Linked DNA regions of Homo sapiens: region 2 is linked to region 1. The links are contacts of gene promoters, found by promoter capture Hi-C in human tissues and cell types (Jung and others, 2019). All regions are on one chromosome and are shown on one strand. The core of a region is centred on a gene start or on the middle of the fragment in contact, and the rest is flanking DNA. Distances in the headings are between cores, read along the strand shown. Region 1 holds the start of PLGRKT (plasminogen receptor with a C-terminal lysine). Region 2 overlaps RFX3 (regulatory factor X3).

Evidence for each region. Contacts are between HindIII fragments. The study calls those that stand out against the background at their distance.
Region 2: a contact is called between a fragment that was not itself captured here and the fragment with the promoter of PLGRKT in region 1, in 1 of the 25 tissues and cell types used here (lymphoblastoid cells).

Annotation. Positions count from the first base shown.
Region 1 is chr9:5,434,735-5,442,400 of GRCh38, forward strand. It overlaps PLGRKT (plasminogen receptor with a C-terminal lysine), which reads right to left and starts at 3,191. Exons shown (of 6, transcript NM_018465.4): 1 at 3,055-3,191; 2 at 1,835-1,960. RefSeq lists enhancers at 2,493-3,692, 2,748-2,837, 4,398-4,557. The HindIII fragment of the contact is 22,053 bases long and covers 1-7,666 here.
Region 2 is chr9:3,515,732-3,523,397 of GRCh38, forward strand. All of the region lies in intron 1 of RFX3 (regulatory factor X3), which reads right to left. Among named protein-coding and RNA genes, the nearest start is that of RFX3, 6.4 kb to the right of the region's middle. The HindIII fragment of the contact is 3,565 bases long and covers 2,359-5,923 here.

The DNA of each region.
Region 1 (7,666 bases), core at 1,941-4,440:
GCCTCTGCCCGGCCGCCCTGTCTGGGAAGTGAGGTGTGCCTCTGCCTGGCCGCCCCATCTGGGAAGTGTACCCAACAGCTCCGAAGAGACAGCGACCATCGAGAACGGGCCATGATGACGATGGCGGTTTTGTCGAAAAGAAAAGGGGGAAATGTGGGGAAAAGAAAGAGAGATCAGATTGTTACTGTGTCTGTGTAGAAAGAAGTAGACATAGGAGACTCCATTTTGTTCTGTACTAAGAAAAATTCTTCTGCCTTGGGATGCTGTTAATCTATAACCTTACCCCCAACCCCCTGCTCTCTGAAACATGTGCTGTGTCAACTCAGGGTTAAATGGATTAAGGGTGGTGCAAGATGTGCTTTGTTAAACAGATGCTTGAAGACAGCATGCTCGTTAAGAGTCACCACCACTCCCTAATCTCAAGTACCCAGGGACACAAACAGGGCCAAAGGCCGCAGGGACCTCTGCCTAGGAAAACCAGAGACCTTTGTTCTTGTGTTTATCTGCTGACCTTCTCTCCACTATTATCCTATGACCCTGCCACATCCCCCTCTCTAAGAAACACCCAAGAATGATCAATAAATACTAAAAAAAAAAAAAAAAAGAAGAAGATTGAGCTGTCTCAAGGTCAGTAGACCAGTTATTCTTCCTGTCATCCCACCACAATCCCTGTCCCTCTCCTACATGCCCCTTATTTCCATCCACCCACTGCTAACTGCCTTAGCCATCCTCCTCCAGCTTCACTCTCATTCTCTCCAAGATAGCATGTACTAAAGTTCTCAAAAATGGAAAAACATACAGATACTTGAATGTCCTGGAAAATGTACTTTTTAGATGAATGCACAGTAGTGTCTATCTTATGTAAGTTTTTAAGTGGGCTGTCAACTCTACAAGGGACAGAACTCCAATTTTTATTCTTAATCCAACTGGGTGGGTACAGAAGACCTTGAGTTAGTTGGTTGCATTTCAGAATACTGCAAAACTCAGGGGAAAGTTACAACTGCTCTACCCTTCTCAACAATGTTGCTGATACCTTTTCTCTTTAATAGGCTGTTGAGTAGGGTTGTGAACCTCAGGTAAGAATGGCCAGTCTTAATTCATTACAGCCAGGATTCCCAAGTATTCTGTGGGAAGCCCAGCTAATGGGGTTCCAGGTGAGTGGGAGCTGCAAGCAAGACTTCAGTGACTTCCTTGTATTCTGATCAAGGATACACCTGGAGTTTCAGGGCTCTGTGCCAGAGTCAGCTTCAAAGCTGAGCACAGGATACCAAACCACTTACCAGGATGAAGAGGCACAATGCTGAAAAGGCCTGAGGTGGTGAGATTTCCCTCCCCTTCTGCCACTGTGCCACTCGAGCACCCTGTGACCAGAGTTAGAGGCCACTCACTGACAGCAGGGTGATTTGGCAGTTCTTTCCTTTCTCCAAACCCTAACAGTCCCATGCGACTCATCTCTAACAGCAGACCAGAACCTGCCTGAGGTTAGGAGCGAGATATTATCCATCTTGATAGTCTCCATGGTGTCTACTTCCCCTAAATATTTGCACAAAGCATGAGAGATACAAGAAAAACTGTGGCTCAGGCCACTTGCCATTACTTATTTTTCTTCTGAACATAGGAGTGGATGACTAAATTTTTACACCTGCTGCAAACATTTATAAAGAAAACAACTGTACTCTAGTACTATTCCTCCACATACCCTGTATATCACAGAGCTGTGTGCTTTCAAGTGCTCCTGTTTGTAAGGGGTTAGGATCTCCCCTGAAAAGAGAGAGTCCTCATGTCAATCATCTGGGAAAGAAACACTGTCTGGGAAGTTAGTATTTAGATTTACCTCTTTCTGGGCCTTGCTCTCCTGGGTCTGGACTTGTAGTCTGAATGTGTTAGAGGACGCTCCCAGGTGGAAGGGTTAAAGGTGGAAGCCAAGCAGGAAGAAGAGCTTCCTTATGGGAAACCACACCTGAGAATAAATAAATGCATCACACCTTGTAAATTTCACCCTGGAGTTCAGTATTTTCAACATTCTTTCCTTTCCCAACTTCCCCATTCCTGGCAAAGTCATTTCCCAAAGTCTGGGAATATTCCGTAGGGTGTCCAGAACACTTTCAGCTATCTCCTCTTGCTCACAAAATATGTATCAGAAAATAAGCAAAATTGACCTTGCAATAGGGATAACTTTGATTTCACTCACTTGTATAAGTTAAGTCTTTTAAAAATTCTAACACTTTTCACCAGGGGTAAAAAAAAATGTCTTGCTACTTATACAATTTTAAACATCACTGTGTCTCAGAGTGATGTTTTGCAGAGAATGCTGATTTCAATCCCTCTGTCTTCATTTTCCCTTTGATTCCTTCTGAGATCTTGGAAGGGGTCTTTAATGCTTCAGCCCTGCCTCAGGTGAGCTATAGATTACTATGGGAAGGTGTATTTCTGGGGAGGAGAAGTGGTGCCTGCAAGTTCCAGACAACCTTTCTTCCGGTCACCCGTGAGTACCTAGATTTGATTTTACTTGGGGGGACATAAAAAATTAATTGCATGAATTCTGTCATCGGGATTACCACGCTGACTTATTTCCCGATCAGATGACACATTGCCTGAATGTATGACTGATCGTCTCACCACAGTCATTTTCAATATTTGCATCCCATTGAAATTAAGCCACATCCCCTTGCAAATTCCAGCCCAGAGCCCACAGCTTCCGGAGGTTTTCTGTAATTAACACCGCCCTTGCTCCCTGAGGCCAGTTACTGTAATTTAGGTATTCCCCGCAATAGTGTGCTGATTTCTGTTGAGAGCACTGTGCCTGTTTTTCTCAACTCTATTTTAAAGCTACGGAGAGATCCGGAGTCCACGCCAGGCGACAAGAACGCGCTCTAATGGAACGAAGTTGGCAATACCTATCAGCACCAGGGGCAGTGCGAGAGCCAAGAGCCGGCGCTCACGAGGAGCGGGCGCCCAGCGCTGCCTGGCAAGCCCGGAGCCCAGGAGATCGCGCTGACTGACATGGCCGGGCTGACCCTTCTCCCCACCCGCCTGCGGCCGGTGTTCACTCACTGGGCGGCGCTGGTGCCGGGACCAGGCGACCGGTACGCAAACCTCCAGGCCCGGGCTCCTTTCGCCCGCTGCAGGGACCGGGCCTCGCTCCGCCCAGCGTCGGGATTGGCGCCCAGACACAGTAGATGACGCACCTCAGCCAATTCGCGCAGCCCTCAGCTTCTTTAAAGAGCCGGCACTTCCGCCAGAAGCCGGGTGTGTCCTTCCGGGCCAGGCTCAGTGTTACCAGAGGTGGGAGGGGAAGGTCAAAAGAGGCAAATTCAAAGCCGCGGCGACTCAGCTGCCAGATTTTTGAGATGAGGCAGAGGAAGCGGAGTGGAATTCTCAATTAAAGGCCTCTGTCCCCTCATCTGTTAAATTGGCACTATTAAAAAGTCATAAAGATAAGACAGAAACGAGAAAGAAGAGAATTGACTGAAATTACCCATTCTTTTTTGAACAGAGCCGTCTTTCTCCCCTGCTGCTCAGAGAGATGTCGGTCTCGCCTCAACCTCACCAGCAATTTCTATCTTGAATAAGCCACGTCTCTCTCCCAGCCTGAGAGAATGCTTGAATTGTTGGCACTCTGTTCTTTGCTACCAAATGGCTTGGAAAAATAGCATGAACGTCACCAGTCTCTGGCCTTCAGGAAAGTCCCTGCTAACCACCACAGCGGTGGAGAAGGCGTCTAACTTTCTCCAGGCTCAGCGTGTGAGTGCACACCGCCCTGACCTCCTGGGCGCGTCTTGATGCTCTCAACAGCAGCCCTCAGGATTCTGGACTGTGGGTCCCACATTCCAGATACCATTTGTGGAATGGCTGGATGAGAAAATTGCAACAGCACCCTCATTTCCAGTTAAGGGAATGGGCGGGTTACCAGGAGGTTTGACACTCTTGAAGGGAGGTTAACAACTGATGCAAGAAGTAAGGAATCGTGTTTGAGTGCACAGACTCTAGCATAAACACACCTACCTTCAATTTCTAGCTCTGTCACTGTCACTCTGAATTTATCACCTCTGCAACAGGACTAAAGCCATCTAATTTATTGGATTGTGAGGACTAAAAGATAATATATGTGGGCATTTAGCACAGTGTCGGGCACATAGTTCGCCTTCCGTAACCAGTAGTAACCAGTAACAGCGGGGAGCTGTTAGTAACTATAGGGCTGAGGGGTGGGGGAAGGAAGCAGTTACTAAAACCAGGCGAGAGCGAGAGCGGTAGCTGTGGCTGTACGAGAGAGTAACCAACTGGAACCGTGTCGTTCAGTAGAGGAAAGCAAGCAATGCCAACTTTTCACCAAGTAAGGTGAGATTCTATAGTTGTAGCCAGTGCTGAGACGTCAGCCCAAAGCAGGGACAGAGTGGAGAAGACCCACCTCTCTGTTCTCCCAGCTCTGATATCCAGCTGGGGTCTTCCGCTGGCTGGATCCACCAGGAAGCCAGAAGACAGTGGAGCTAGGTCTGTGTAGTCTGTAGAGGTCAGCCTACTAGGCACAATGCCTGGAGGGAGAAATAGAAAATATCCAGCACACCATTTCTTTTTTTTGTTTGTTTTTACACTTTAAGCTCTAGGGTACATGTGCACAACGTGCAGGTTTGTTACCTATGTATACATGTGCCGTGTTGGTGTGTTGCACCCATTAAGTTGTCATTTACATTAGGTGTATCTCCTAATGCTATCCCTCCCCCCTCCCCCCACCCCACAACAGGCCCCGGTGTGTGATGTCCCCCTTCCTGTGTCCAAGTGTTCTCATTGTTCAATTCCCACCTATGAGTGAGAACATGCGGTGTTTGGTTTTTTGTCCTTGCGATAGTTTGCTGAGAATGATGGTTTCCAGCTTCATCCACGTCCCTACAAAGGACATGAACTCATCATTTTTTATGGCTGCATAGTATTCCAGCACACCATTTCTACAACCTTGGGTTTATTGTGTTTGGAAGCCTAGATCCAAAGGAAGGAATGCTGCCACTAGAAGACCCCGTCACTGAATTGAATTGAATTTCAATTCATTGATTCGAAAGCTGAAACTGCCCTCTGGTCACTTTGATTCCTCACAGTGACAGAATGGTATGATTCATCCCAAATACCAAAAGGAAATTGGGTTACATCTATATATTGAGGGCAAGAAGAACTATGCATGACACCTGGAGATTCACTGGGCACTTCTTAATACTGCCGTGTGCCATAATAATGATTATCAGATAACTGAAGTAATGCAGAAATTTCAGATCATGAAGAAATTAAAGTGTTGAAGCATACCAGATAAAAAAATCCTGATCTACCTAGGTGTTGGCATAGGGCAGGGGAAACATACATAAGTAAATGAGTAGGAAGCTATGATTATTAATTTTAGCCTTGCAACAAGCTCTAGAGGCAGGAATTATAGTAGCTCTCCATTTAAAATGTTAATTACTTCTTCCCTGACTCTCTTTTCCTATTACCCTGCATAAAGAGTAGTGGTGGAGATAAATATTACAATTTAGTTTCTGGGTGAGAATGTGCCTGAACTGACATCCCCTCAAGGCAATATGGCAGCTGATGAGGCTTGTTAAGGAAAATCAAAGCTGGACAATAGCTGTAGCAGTAAAAATAGATTTTTATTCAGCAACTTTTGAAATAGGGGGAAAGAGACCTTGGTAAAGAACTGGGCTCAATTCTGAATACAGTAAGGATAAGTGGGGATTTATAGCCGAGGAGCAGGTTGTGTGGATGGGGGTGGGGTCCGTGGATGGAAAATTACTAAGAAGAGACAGCAAGGGTAGGGGAAATCCTTGCTAAACTGACCTAACAGGATTCTTGCTAAAGGTAGGCCAGGGTAAGCAGACATCACCTGGGGGCTGGTGGGGGTAAGGAATTTGATCAGATATTGAGAGTGGTCAAACATTCAGGGTGGGAAGATCCTCTCTAAACTGACTTAGCAGGATTCTTGCCAACACTGATTCTGCAAGGATGAACACTGCAGCCCAAGGTCAATATCTAATCAAGGAGATGGCTTAGAGGAGCCTGACTAAAGTTTGGTCGAGGAGAAATCTTGTCAGACTCTGTCATTCTCATATGTAAGGGATGAGCTGCTCTTCATCTGAGCAAAGGAAAAGAATAAATTCTGGGTGACAAAACAATTAGACTGTCTAGGTTTTCTGTTTGCCTTCCATCATATTCATTCTCCTCACTTCCCTGCCCTGTTCTATACCCCAAAGCTGACCTCTTTGGACGGCACCACCTGGGCTCTCCTCAGCTGGTTTCCATTTGAGTTTGGACAGCGGGAGGCATTCAGGGAGATGGGAGGCAGGAGGAAAAAGACATCAGGGTATATTTTCTCTGTTCTTTCTCTGTTTGGGGCTGAGTATCTGGTGGTGGTTGTGTTTCTCCACAATTGCAGCTCTTGGCAAGCAGTCCCTTCTCCATGGCTCCAGCTCCATGGGCTCTGGAAACACTTTTCTCCTTTGCTATGTAGCCTAGAGAGAGCGCAGTCTTCCTGCTGTTGCTAGACTCTGGATGACTCAACTGGATGGTTCTCTTAGTCATACTCCTTTAAGTAGTGTCTTCACTAATATCTCTTTAATCAAACCAACTGAGTAAAATTCTGATTCCTGATGGATACATGTTAAACCGAAAACACACATTATAAATTTTCTTGTATGTATGATGTTTTTCATAATTTTAAAACATAAGTGAAAAAAGTGACCATAGAAAAATATGCCCAGGAAATTGAAAAAAAAAGTCTTGGTATAGATATTGGACACATTTTATAAAATGTGGAGTAAGAGGGTTAAAGGAAATTTATTTCAGAATCAAATGGCATATAACTTTAACTGGTATGTGAATTATTTTCAGTTGTATGAATTTGTGAATATATATGTGTACATTTTTATGCATATATATAAATATGTGTTTTATATCATCTTGCATTATAACATAAGGATTTTTATGTTGCTACATTGCATTTATATTTACCATTTTTAACAGCTAAAGGATTTTCAATAAGTGTGTATGTAACAACTTCCATTGCTGGATATTTCTCAGTATATATATGTATATATACATATGTGTGTATACATATATATATACATATGTGTATATATACATATGTATGTATATGTATATGTACGTATGTATGTGTATATATACATACATGTGTGTATACGCATATATACATATGTGTATATATACACGTATATACATGTGTGTATATATACACGTATATACGTGTGTATATACACACGTATATACATGTGTGTATATACATGTGTGTATATACACACGTATATACGTGTGTATATACACACGTATATACATGTGTGTATATACACACGTATATACATGTGTGTATATATACGTGTGTATATATATAAACACATATATATATGCACATGCATATGTATACACTGAGTTAAGTAGTATAAATATTTTAGAGAAAATTGATGTAAAATCCTCAACTCATTTGATGCTCCCTATCCCAGGACAGTAAAAATTGCCCAATATTTCCTTGGACCTCCATAAAGAAGCAGTTTTTCAAAAAATAAAGTGTTTGGAAGTTTAAGATGTGCCTAGCAGTGTCTCCTTTTAACAGAGATGCTTTCACAAGGATTTGAATTTCCCCATTGAGCTGGGAACCAGGTTTAGCCAAGAACTT
Region 2 (7,666 bases), core at 2,891-5,390, 1.9 Mb before region 1:
AGGGGATGAGATATATTTTAAAGATGAAAGTTATACTGAAATACACAAATGCTATTAGGCATGCAAATCTGAATGTAGTCCAGAAACTTGAAAATGTCTAAGTTAATCAGTAAAAAACAAAGCATTCAAAAATAAATTTTTTAAATCAATAATTACAATCTAAGCTTTAATATACTCCCCTATTAGGCTGGTAAAAGAGTTGAGTTACAGCAGAATATATGACTTATCCTGAATAAATGCAAAAATGCTTCCTCTTTTAGCCTGCTATGTTCTAAAATCTTGAGAAGTCTACTAACCAAAGTAGTATTAAAGTAAAAAAAAAAATTTTTTTTTTTGAGATGGAGTCTTGCTCTGTTGCCCAGACTGGAGCGCACTGGCGTGATCTCGGCTCACTGCAAGCTCCACCTCCTGTATTCACACCATTCTCTCACCTCAGCCTCCCGAGTAGCTAGGACTACAGGCGCCCGCCACCACGCCCAGCTAATTTTTTGTATTTTTAGTAGAGACGGGGTTTCATCGTGTTAGCCAGGATGGTCTAGATCTCCTGACCTCGTGATCCACCCGCCTCAGCCTCCCAAAGTGCTGGGATTACAGGCATGAGCCACCGCACCCAGCCTAAACTAAAAATTTTTTAAAATTTAAGAAAATGTATACTTCTTAAACAAAAGACTATTTTTCTGCTACCAAAGCTGAATTAAAAGAATGCTTATCCAAGTATAAACAATATTAAGAAAAAGAAAAGCAGTAACTATTACCGATGGAAAAATATGAGACTAGTGTGGAGGATAGCAATGCTTTCCAGACCAGGGACCCCAAAGTAGTCCAAAGGCTCTCGGAGCTTGTCTAGACCTTGACGGGATTTTTAGCTCTTCTTAAAAACCAGTTGAATAGCTTCAATAATTGGGGAAGAAATGTCTTAAAAATGAGATCAACAGAAACCTAAATTAATTTTTATTCTGATCAGAGAGCACACATGCACTAGCTCGCTTTCGCACTCTCTCTCTCTCTCTCTCTCTGTTAAATTGCCTATCCACATACTCGGGAAATTATGTCCTGTTTTAAATATCTCATTGGTGAGCAACAGACAGGAGGAGCCCCAAATGTCAGACACTTGTCTGGCACACACACATAGAGAAGCTGGCTCCGGCAGGAGCTCAAGCTGTGAGACTCAGCTAATTCCTATGTGGGTGAGAAAATGAGGGCACTTGGCCACCACTCTCTACAGAAGCCATTGAAATGGTGGAACCTTCTGAGACTTTGCTATAGGTATGGCCATTATGCTAGCACCAGGCTGTGGGTTTTCTTTCTTTCTTGTTCTTACCAGAAGAAACAATAAGCAAACAACTTGCTAGCCTTTGAGAACATGAGTAAGGGAAATGCCAATTCCTGGCTCCATGTTATTGGCATGTTTCCTTCCCTTTCCCAGTGTCAATCTTGCTACAGAATCATAGATTGGAAAGGGCTTTAGAAATCCCATAGCCCTATTGTTTCATGTTACAGATGGAGAAACTGAGACCTATAGGGTATAAGTGACCAGGCTAAGGTTTTACAGTTAGAAATAGAGTGAGAACCTTTATTTTCTCTTTAACCTCCTTTGGCTAGCATTTTTGAAGTCCTTTATATCTTGGCCTGGTCACTCGCTGTCCTTTCTCCTTTTATCATCTTTCACTGTATCTGTCTCCTCTTACCAACTAACACACTATTATTTTGAGGACAGCTGTCTCACTCTATTAGTTTTCCTAAGCTCAACTCCTATTACCCAATACCTCATTTTTGCCTAAACAGGAATTACCAAGAACCTTCAGAAATCTTGACCAAGCACTCTAAAGCAAAGGCAAGCAGTACTAGCTGGGTATTACTGCTTCTAATAAAAGTGAGAAAGGAGAATCCAGGAATTAAAAGTCAACAACAGCAGGCATCTGTGATTGTGCAAACACAGTGTTTATGGACTACAGATTTAACCCTAAGGTACTTAGCCAGAGGCCAGTACATAGCCAGGACTAAGAAGGGAGCCTTCTGAATCAAAACCACACTCAAATTACATAGTTAGTGGAACAAGGTTATAAATTTGTCCAAGAGGACAGTCAGATGAGTAGAAATTGTAAGATAATAATAGACTATCGGAAATGGTAAGAATAACCATACAGTCACGCACCACATAACATTTCTGTCAACAACAAACCACATCCCATAACAAAATGGAGCTCAAAAATTCCTATAGCCCAGTGACATCATAACCAACTAAACATCTTGACACAATGCATTACCTTTTCTACGTTTAGATATGTTCAGATACACAAATACTTATCTCTGAGTTACAAGTGCCTACAGTATTCAGTCCAATAACATGCTACGCAGGTTTATAGACGAGAACAATATGCTATACTATATAGCATAGGCGTGTAGCAGGCTATACCATCTAGGTGTGTGTTGGGTACACTCTATGATGTTCACACAATGATGAAATCACCTAACTACGTAATTCTCAGAACATATCCATATCATTAAGTAATGTATGACTGCATAACCTGACCATCCAAATCACATTTCCTAAACTTTTCCCAAAAGTTCCTTTTAAATCTGTGTCAAATTCACTGGCGAAAGGAAGCAGAGGAGGTGGCTAAGCTGAGAGTCAGTCTAATTGATATGTTGGGGCTAATTATCTACAAAAATAACGCAAAGGGGGTCATATAACTAAACACTTAACGGGAGTGGGGAGAATGGTGAAATGAGTGACACAGACAAACATCTGTACAATATACAATGCTTTGGCAAAAAAGAAAAGACATATAGTATCAGGTAAATTCTCAACTGAAATATATAAGTCAAATTTCCAGTTTGAGAAAGATTAGGACTGTTTATAGATCACTCTAAAATGAGAAAAGTATTTCATTCTGATGAAAATGTTCAGGAAAAATATAGAAATAAAGGAAATTACTGAATAGCAACTTTAATAATTAAGCAGCCAACTTGAAAATGTTACTTAAACATCTTTAATATCTAATGAAAGGAAGCCACAGGTGATATATTTCCTCTATGATTTCATATTATATATTACACTAAATAATGTTCCAAGGTTACTTTACAACTCAAGATTGGGATTGACAAATCATCCCAAAATTATTTATTGCTGTAGGTACACAAGTAGTAACCTCACACATTTTTCTACCCTTAGTAAAGTAACAATTCTAAGCAACGCATTATAAAAATGTAGAATAATTCTTTGATAAACTCATCTTTACACAACTGACTAGACTATTTATTATTATTAAACTTTACTGACTACATTCAGTATAAAGTTTATAAATAGGGCTCAGACTGTTTTCAAATAATTCATGTATAACGTGAAAATAAAAATATAAGTGGGACAATGAACTGGACAATGGGAGTATAACAGATAATGACATATTACATCATTAGTTCTTAATCTAAAATCCTTTGACCAGGAGAGTTATGCAAACCTAGTAAAAGGAGCCCATTATAAGGCTGCAGAGTAAAACTAAAACATAACTTTGGGCTAGCATTCTATTAATTCAGTGTGATAAGACTGGTTATCAAATGATAATCCAAGCCTGTGATTGGCAGCTTGTCTGTGCCTTATTTTTTAAAGTGGAGGAAAAAGAATAATTATTATTTAATGAGTATAAATTGGTAAGCAAAGTCTTTCAAAACTTTTTGGGCTCATTAAAAAAGGGATGGTCAAAGGATTCTTAGGTAGCAAAAAGATTAGAATAGGTATTTTCTCAGCCTTCCCTAAAAATAAAGCCAACGCGTATTGAACACATATTGTGTCAAATACTGAGCAAAGTACGTTACATAAATTATCTCCTTTAATCCTCACAAAACCCCATAAGGCAGGGAAGATTGATCCTATTTTTCAAATGAGAAAACTGAGGTTAAGTGAAGGTAATAACTTGTCCAAAGTCACACAACTAATGAGATTATCTGAAATCTGACTCCAAAGCCTGTTATTCACCAGTATACTTATTCTATCCATCTATTTAAAGAACAAAACCTATTTATACCTATTTATTGATACTCTAAACACGTTTCCATTTTTAACTGATTTGTTTTCACTAAGAACACTCTGCATTTGATACGAAATAAAAACTACAAATATAAAGATTTTGAAGCAATACAACTTGCTATAAAGTATACTTTCAAAAATCTAGCCTGGGCAATGTAGCAAGACCCTGTCTCTACAAAAAAAAAAAAAATTGAAATGTTTTAAATTTTAAAATGATGGCAACAGCCTGTAGTCCTAGCTACTCAGGAGGCTGTGGCAGGAGGACCACGTGAGCCCAGGAGATTGAGGCTGCAGTGAGCTATGACTATGCCACTGCACTCCAGCCTGAGTGACAGAGCAAAACCCTGTTTCAAAAAAGGAAAAATCTTAGTGGCAAAAACTAACTGGTAAACTGTAGGACTATATTTTTAAAGAAAAATGCCTAACCTATTTTAGCAAGACCAGTATTTAAACATAGTGTTACTTTAATAAATGTTTTGGATTCTTTGAGGCAGTCTAACACACATGAACTACTATGCCTTGTAAGCTTACTTTATAAAAATATCACAATTAACTAATTATAGTAAAATATGGACTAGTACAGATAAATCCATTATCAAGATTAAAAAGTTTATATGCTGTAACTGTATCTTTCTAAGCTTACTTAAGGAAGGTATCACTGTTTCAGTATGTCTTTTAGAGTATATATTGCTGTGAAAAGAGTCGATGATACAAGAAGTAGCCCAAGATTGGATTCAGTATTCTCCTAAAAATCTCTCACTGAACAAATAAAATACAAAAAGCAATATAAGATCACTCCCAGTTTAAAAGTATATGGCACACAGTAGGGCTGGGAACCTAAAAGTTTTCAGATAATAAGCCAAATTAAACAATCAAACTAGCCTATTCCAACAGCATGAAGTACGGATTGCATTCGTTTCTGTTTTTGGTGTTTTGAGACAGGGTCTTGCTCTGTCACCCAGGCTAAAGTGCAGTGGCATGATCATAGCCCACTGTAACCTGAAACTCCTGGGCTAAAAAATTCTCTCACCTCAGTCTCCTGAGTAGCTTGAACTACAGGCACGCACCGGCAAGGCTGGCTAATTTTCTTTTACTTTTTTTTACAGAAATGAAATCTTGCTATGTTGCCCAGGCTGCTCTTGAACTCATAGCCTCAGGTGATCCTTCTGCCTCAGTCCCAAAGTGTTGGGATTATAAATGTGAACCAATACAACCAGCCAGAATTATCTAGATAATGTCAATACTATTTTATTATGAATTAGCCTGATAACCACTATTGCCATTTATTTTTCCAGTGGTTTTTTTAAAGATTATACAATAAAAAGCATATCACTATGCCATGTAAAAGTGTTATAAGAATGGACAATTATTGATATGTGCTAATCATATGAAATTTAAGAAGTATAAAGCCACATATCGCCAAATAGTATGATTCTCAGGGTAACCTAAGTTTTGAAATAAAGATTAAAATATCTACATAAGATAATCAACATATATGCCTATAGGACTAATGCCAGACAGTGCCAAAGATATCAATCTTTATATTGTTATATGTTGCGGTAATATGTATTAGTACACGAAGTTAGGTTCTGATGTAAAACTGCCAATTAAGATAGTATGTTAAACTCCATAAAAATAAGCCTATTATATGCTTCAATGCATATATAATTAAAAATTTTTTTCTTTAAATAAAAGTTCTAGTGAGTTCACATTCTTAGTGATAATAATCTCATGTTGCAAACAGCACAGCACCCTCTGGTGCATCTGTTATAAGAAATATAAAATTCCCACAGAAAAGGACAGAATTGTAGAGTAAAAGTGAACCTTAGAAATCAATAGGTTGATAGTTTTTTTATTTACTGCAGTACATATTTTTGAACATTAATACTTAAAAATATTATCATTTTAAAAGATCACTATAAACTTTATAGCAGTAAATGAAGTCAGGAAATGTCTTAGTTTGAAAATACTTAACCAACAAAAACAACACCTATTTCCAACATATAAAAAATGCTGTCAAAAAATTATTTCAGTAAAGGATGACAAAAGTTAACTTGTCATGTTAACCAAATTTCACTTTATTCAAATTGGCCTTGGGGTTTGACTTGGGTGTGTAAAATGTTCCTGTGTACTTTTTCTGGATTCAAAGGGAATTTACCATTATTTATAAGAATTGATAAGTGTTTTGTGAAAGAATCTGCAGGTTCTACCACTTAAAAATAGAATATTCAGAAATAAAAGTTATGTTAAATTACGAATCTTGAGTAGTTCAAAACTTTTACTTTAAAAAAAAAAAACTTTTCCTAGAAAACTCTAAAAGTAGATTTTACTAACAACAAAAGCAAAGGATGCCACCTGCTTTAGACAGCCCTTTTGTCAACCACTGGAAGTCCCAACACAATGCAGTAAAAAATGAAAGTGACACCTGTTTAAAGCAGCCATCTGTCCCTAACAAGCCAGATTTAGTCAAATCCACTTAATCTTGGATTTCCAAAATATGGGAACACTATGTATCTGTGAATAGAGAGGAATTTAAAACATACTTTGTCATGGCCACTGGGAATATATACCAAAGAGTTAAAGGCAAATTACTCAGTTATGAAAACTGTTTTTAAGGTAACTGAGCTCAAATAGAGGATTTTTAGCCAAAGGTTCAGCATTAAAACAAAATAACCAGGAGCCTCTCAAAAATGTTAAAGTTTACTTCTTCCCTATTCTCATTTCTTGTAACACATTCTCACTATGGATACTAAGAACAAAGTAATATTCCTATTACTGTTCTGGAAAAGTGTGTGTGCGTGTGTGTGTGTGTGTGTGTGTGTGTGTGTGTAACTTTTGCCACACATCTGCTGCTATGCCCACCCATTTAAACACAAACACACACACACACACAGACTTTAAAATCTGAAAACCAAAAATCATTATATTCTGCCTGCTAATTTCTTCAGCTGGAGAATACCAACACAATATCAACTTTCTCAAGAAATGAAAAATGTTACCAAAAAGTAACATACATTATCATTTAAACGACGCATAAAATCCAACTTGCCTTTAAGATTCATTCATTTTTTAATTGCTATTGTTAATGGTAAAAAAATTAACCATAATAAATTGTTTAGGGTAAAATAAACTGTTCCAGGTTAAAGCACAGTAAGCTTATAAACTATAACCTTTTATTTGAGTACCAAAGCAGAGTACAAGACTATTTGAGTACTGGAGGAATAATACAAAAAAAACTAACCATCACTACAACCTTTAATGAAAACATTGTGAAACGATGCAAAACTTCTAGAAATTCATTAGTTTGCCATATATGTGTATATGTATGATGCCTACACCATTTAATACAATTCATAGGCAAAACACACCAAAACGACTGAGTTAGGCATTATGACATACATTGAATCACAGACATTTGACTATTCAAAACAAGTTACAAGTGACTTCTATTTAATAGTTTTAGTTTCAAAGCATGATCACTTTTACAAATTTCTATTAGTATAAAAACTGAAAACACAAGAGAGTATCAATACATAACATAGTCCCTTCTAGGAAAAATATTAAGAAAGAATAAAGTAAATGCTAAGTATCTATCCTTGTGTTTAATTTTTAAATTTACCATTTCTCAGTGTTTCTGAT